Regions from separate parts of the Homo sapiens genome. Here region 2 is linked to region 1. Evidence: promoter capture Hi-C in human tissues and cell types (Jung and others, 2019). All regions are on one chromosome and are shown on one strand. Each heading gives the region's core, a stretch centred on a gene start or on the middle of the fragment in contact. The rest is flanking DNA. Distances are from core to core; before and after follow the strand shown. Region 1 holds the start of RLBP1 (retinaldehyde binding protein 1). Region 2 overlaps HAPLN3 (hyaluronan and proteoglycan link protein 3).

Region 1 (2,743 bases), core at 1-2,500:
TGCAAACTGAGGATAATAACAGTACCTACCAAAAAGAACTGTCGTGAAAACCATATAATTTCTGCAATGCTCCTGGCACAGTGTCCTGTTCTAAAGCATAGTTCCCCTTCTCTTTCTTAGCTCCATATTGATTATTACCCTAACTTGCACAAAGAGACTTGGAGGACCCCCATAGAGTATCGGAGGGTCCCCCATTTCCTGCTCTTTCCACTCCACACCCCCAGCAAGCACAGGGAAGTTCTGGGGGCCATAATCCACCCACAGGAACCAAATCTAAGCCACCTTTCTGGCTGGTAGACATCCAGGTATGTGGGCACAGAGGTAGACAGGCTGAAATGCTGCTGTGCTATCAGTTGGGTTTTGCTGGAACAGGAATGGAAATGGAGAGGCTGACAGAACTGCCCTGGGGAGCCCAGGCAAGAGGGACAGTGGCTGGACACCCCCAGCCAGTTGTGCAGACCATCAGAACAAGATCCTAGATTTTAGGAATACAGGGTTCAAGTCCGTGCGGCAACTCTTTTCTAAATATGCCCAAGCCATTAACTTTGAGTTTTAAAAATACTGATTTACAAGCTGTACACAATGAAAAAATGCCTATCCCTCACACCATGCTGATGCTGTTCCCTGCCATCTCAGATTACCAATTAAATACAGAATGCCCAGTTAAATGTGAACTTTTTTTTTTTTTTTTTTTTTGAGATGGAGTTTTGTTCTTGTCGCCCAGGCTAGAGTGCAATGGTGCGATCTCAGCTCACTGCAACCTCTGCCTCCCAGGTTCAAGCAATTCTCCTGCCTTAGCCTCCTGAGTAGCTGGAACTACAGGTGCCCACCAGCACGCCTGGCTAATTTTTGGTATTTTTAGTGGAGATGGGGTTTCACCATGTTGGCCAGGCTGGTCTCGAACTCCTGACCTCAGGTGATCTGCCTGCCTCGGCCTCCCAAAGTGCTGGGATTACAGGCGTGAGCCTAAATGTGAACTTTTTTAATACTAAAAAAGTATTTGCTGTTCATCTGAAATTCACATTTAACTGGGTGTCCTGTATTTTTATTTGCTAAATCTGCCATCAAATTGGTCTGGCTCAACCTGGAGAATGGCCAGGTGGTTTCAGTTTTACAGGCATCTTGGGACGTGGTCTCCCTGCTCCCCTGAGTCCTCACCCCAGTCCTGGGCTCCCTGGCCCAGGCAAGCCCCAGGTATTGACTTACCTGCCAGGTCGGCAGCTCCTCCTTGGGGCTACCTGGTACCTGAATGTCCTGGAGCTCTAGAGGTTCCCTCCGCTGGAGGCGTGGTCCGGTCAGCAGGTTGGGATTAGTGTGTCATAAGGAACTTCTCACCGCCCACAGTTTCCGTTAAATCGGGCTCACAGGAGGCCCTCAGTGGGGCAAAGGAAGACCCAGAGAGAAAGGGGAGAGGGGAGAGGCCTGGGCCTGGCTGGAGGCGCATCAAAGCCCTCCTTTGTGTGCTCCTGCTCTGGAGTTCCTGCTCGGCCATGTGGAAGCCCGGCTGTGGGGCTGGGATCTGGGCCAGTCCCATTCCCTCTTTTCTCTGCCCTCTTTCTCCTCAAGATCCCGGGGTGGGGTTGCTGAGAGAGCACCCCCCCCCCCCCACCACCACCACCAGGGTAATAAGAGGTGAAGGGAAATCGTAAATATGACTACATCTACAGTGGCAGCTCTGGCAAATCCAGGCCTATTGCCCACCCCTCCCCCAGCCAGCAGGACCTGGCATGGTAGTTTTCACCTCTGCAGTGAGTGGGGTCAGTTGAGAAATGTGGCTGGTTAAGGCCAAGCAGGGAGAGGACAAGACAGGCTGAGCCTCCTTCTGGGCAGTGTGGTGCAGTGGCATGCCCTGGAACCAGACTGCCCGCCTGTAAAGCCTCGCTCGAGCATCTTCTGGCCGGGAAACATGACTTCAAAACTCATCGGCTCAGTTTCCTCCTCTAAGAAGTGTAGAAAACTAGAGGACCAGGCTCATGACTTTAGTGCGGATGAAATGGCAGTAAAGTGCTTAGTTCAGGGGTTTAGCTGCCTGACAATAAGTCCTCTGGAAAGGTCAGTTACTCCAAATACAGTATCAATAGGTGCCTAACTGGAGGGAACTTATTATTCAATCCTTTGTACAGGAAGAAACCCCTCTGCAGCCTCTCAACAGGTAACTTCCCAGCCTCTGTTTTGCTATTCCACTGGATGAGGAGGAGGTAATTCCTGTAGAACATTTTCTGTCTAGGATTCCAAGGGCGGGAAGCTCCCTGTTTCCATTACTGGGGAGCTCTCCTTGTTTAAAACCTCATTGTTGGTTTGAGCCCCAAGCAGCTTCCTATAATGACCACCCTTGGTCCTGGTTTTGCCTCCTAGAGGTGCCCAGGAGAAGGTCAAGCTCCCCTGCACAGGTCGCTCTCCAGAATCCAACCCCAGAAGTGCTTTTTTATTTTCCCTGGACATAGTTCTTGCTTTTCCACCCATTCCTACTTTGGCAGGTTTGGGATTTCTTCCCACCACCCCATCTCCTGCCGACCCCTTCCTCCAGAGCAGGCTGCAATGCCTGGTGCTTAGATCTTGGGGTGCATTTGAGTCACCTTGAGCTCTTTGTTTCCAAAAGCCCTTTCCCTGGGCTCCTACTCTGGCTGCTGTCTGGGTCTTGGGCTGTTTCTGTCCCAAGTCCTCTGTGGAGCTGGGGATCCTTCATTTATGTCATTCTTCTTCCTGGTGGTCTAGTCCTATGCTGTCTTATATAGTAGCCGCT
Region 2 (3,059 bases), core at 252-2,751, 340 kb before region 1:
CTATGAAGCCTGGGCTAGAACTGCCCCCACCACACCCACCAGGCAGGGGGCTGCGCCCTGAGACCGAACGAGATGGAGACACAGAAAAGGGCTGGGGATGGCGGAAGGCAGTCATAGCACCATTTATTGTCCAAAGTACACACACCTGAGGGCCCCTCCCCACACAGGGAAACAGGAGAAACAAATGACAACAAAACAGATTCTTTGGAACCGAGAGGGGAAGGGGAACGGGGAGGGGAGTTTCTTCCTTCCCTCAGCTTTCGCCTGGAAGCCTAGAACTGGCTTCCAGCCCTAGCCCCTCAGTGGGCAGACTGGGGTCAGCGGCTTCACAGAGAAGTAGAGGTGGGCAGGAGAGGCCCAAAGCCCAGCTCCGGAGGCCCCCGAGGCCCTCTTCTTCCCCCAGGCTGAGGGGCAGGGAGAACTGTGCCCACCATGCCCGGACTCCCGGCGGCATTCTAGACAGGCCACCGCCCACTCTGGGCACCAACCTCCTTAAGGGAGGGAGACCAGCCTGGATGGCGGGGAACCCTCCAGAAGCCCACAAAACCGCAAATGGCCCAGGGGAGCAAGCATGATTCCTGGAGTGGGGCATCCAGGAGCAAAGGGAGGCATTGGGTTCTGTTTGCTTTACAAAAAATAGTAAAAAAATGTTTAAAGAAAATTTAAATTGAGAAGTATAAAAACAGTTAAAATGGCTCCAACCCACAAGGGAAAACGAACCACTCAATAAATACACAGCCAGTGAGGGAATGCGGCAGGGGAGGGCCCCAGGTCCTAGTGCTGGCGGTAGCAGTAAACACCGTACAAGCGGCTCTGCGGGTCGGGGAAGCCAAAGCTTCGGACCCCAGGCTCTGGGGGCCCACAGTTAGGATGCGGGTGAACCACAGGGTAGCGGACGCTACCATCTGCCAGCCAGCCAGCGTCGCAGCGGTCCAGGCCATGGAACTTCCAGGCGGCAAAGAGCTGTCCCACCTTGGCGATCGTGGCATCATCTTCCTGGCAGGCCTCCCTTGCCTCTGTCAGCGTCAGCTTCTCAGGGTGCTCCAGGTAGTACACCCGCCCTGGGGGAAAGGGGGCGTGAGTGCCGTACAGCGCAGGGGGCAGCCAGAGAGCACAGCGGGGTCTGCAGAGATGCCAGCCCCAAAGACCCGTCTGAGCCCAGGGAGCTACCATACTGCAGGCATCTGCAGAGAACACTTTCTAATCTTCACCCTGTCCCAGAGAGCTCTGTCCCACCTGCCATAGAACCCAGGTCCCTCCAGACATGTCTGCACTCCCCCACCACCCTTCCCTATTTAGGTGGGTGGGCACCCCACCTAGGCTGGACCAGTCAGAGTCTCTTGCCCATTCGGTCATTTACTGAACACCTACTATGTGTCAGACACTTTTCCAAGGGCTTGGCATATGACACTGAACCAGTTTCTGTTTTTACTTGTTCATCTTCCTACGAAATGAGCTGCTTTGTGAAGACAGGCTGTGTTTTATTCGTCTGTGATTCCCGAGAGCCTAGTCTAGGCCCCAGCATATGGTAGGCACTCAGTAAACATTTGATGAATGAAGAAACCAATGATTTATGCCCTGCATAACGCAGCAGCAGCAAAGCACTCAAAACTCAACCAGATGCTGCTTCTAGGGTGGCTGGTGCTCTTGGCCTCCAGGTGGCAGTACCAGCAGAGCCAGCAGAGGGGGCCAGAGCTCCCCAGAAGCTGCCCTCTCACAGGTCCCAGGTGGCCACCAAACCCACAGGCCCGCGCTTGGCTATTCCACTCACCCTTGAGGGCAGTAGCGAAGCAGAATACATCATAGCGGTGCAGGCGGCGGTGGCGGGGGCCGTAGCTTCGCACGCCAGGTGCCAGGCCCGGGCCACCGCAGGGCTGCCGGGGCAACATGATGGGGTACTGCACCGTGGCATCCTGCAGCCAGCCCGCGTTGCACCAGTCCAGGCCCTCCTCCCAGGCCCGGAAGAGCTGCTCAAAGGAGGCCACCACCGCAGCCTGCTCTGCACAGACCTGCTGGCCCTCGTGGAAGTTGAACTGGTAGCGCCCGTTGGGGGACTGGTAAGGAAAGACCACACCTGCAGGGGAAGGAAAGAGGAGCTTAGGGGGTGGCCAGGGGCCCAGCTGGCTGGACACCCCGCTCTCCTCCCACCTTCACTGGGACATGTGCTGCCTGCAACACACACACATACACCATCCCTCAGAAAAACTCAGCAAACCTCTGACCTCCTGTCCGTTGCCGCCTCTCTCCTGGGACTCAGCTGGTTCACAGCAGTACTCAGAAAACATCCATGAGTTAAGGTAATTAATTAGTCCATTAATGTCCCCAACAATGTCCCCAACCTAATCCGCAAGGCTGTCGCCAGACCCCCAGTGAGGCTGTGCCATCTTCTCCAGACAGGCCCGGGCTTTGGGCTCTAGGGGCCAGGTTTGACTCCCAGCTCCCCACTCGTTAGCTGGGACCCGATCGTCTACGTTATTATGAATGTGGAAATTTCCTAGGAAAATGCAAGGAACTTTCCACGTGTGGCAGATGATTTTCAGGAGAAGGAGAGGCCCTAGAGGCCGTGGGGAGAGGGTTGGGGAAGGGCCTTCCATAAAGGAGGCTCAAGGGCAGGGAGGTCTGGGGCAGGCGGTTTCTCTCCTTGTGGTCAGGGTCTGATAGAGGCCACAGGCCCTGAAAAGATATGTTCGTGTTTGAAATTTTACTCTAATAAAAAGTTTTTAAACTTCTGAGATGTAGTCTCTACCAAGTCAATGAAACCTTAGGGAGTGGAGGTGACCCTAGGGGTCTGGGAAGGACACTTTGGAATCTCCTCCGTGTGGCCAAGGACCCAGGAACAGCCTGAGCCCCAAACCTCCGATCTCACCAGGGCCGGAAGCCAGGCACCTGGGCAAAGCCAGGTTGGGCGGCAGAGAAGCCCATGGGCCCTGACAGTCAGCTTGCAGCCTCTACGTGTGTTTGCAGGGGGACTATTTCATGCCTGGTTCCACCCCAAATTCCTAGCCCTTGAAGCCCCGGGAATGGGGTGAGGGCTCCCTGTTTCTCTAGGCTGCCCCTGC

Evidence for each region. The method cuts DNA at HindIII sites, captures the fragments that hold promoters and counts their contacts. A contact is called where the count stands out against the background at its distance.
Region 2: a contact is called between a fragment that was not itself captured here and the fragment with the promoter of RLBP1 in region 1, in 2 of the 25 tissues and cell types used here (H1 embryonic stem cells and stomach).

What each region holds. Positions count from the first base shown.
Region 1 is chr15:89,220,329-89,223,071 of GRCh38, forward strand. It overlaps RLBP1 (retinaldehyde binding protein 1), which reads right to left and starts at 1,251. Exons shown (of 9, transcript NM_000326.5): 1 at 1,207-1,251. The HindIII fragment of the contact is 12,253 bases long and covers 1-2,743 here.
Region 2 is chr15:88,877,196-88,880,254 of GRCh38, forward strand. It overlaps HAPLN3 (hyaluronan and proteoglycan link protein 3), which reads right to left. Exons shown (of 5, transcript NM_178232.4): 4 at 1,772-2,074; 5 at 99-1,061. The coding sequence ends at 775. Among named protein-coding and RNA genes, the nearest start is that of HAPLN3, 17 kb to the right of the region's middle. RefSeq lists an enhancer at 1,355-1,930. The HindIII fragment of the contact is 7,012 bases long and covers 1-3,059 here.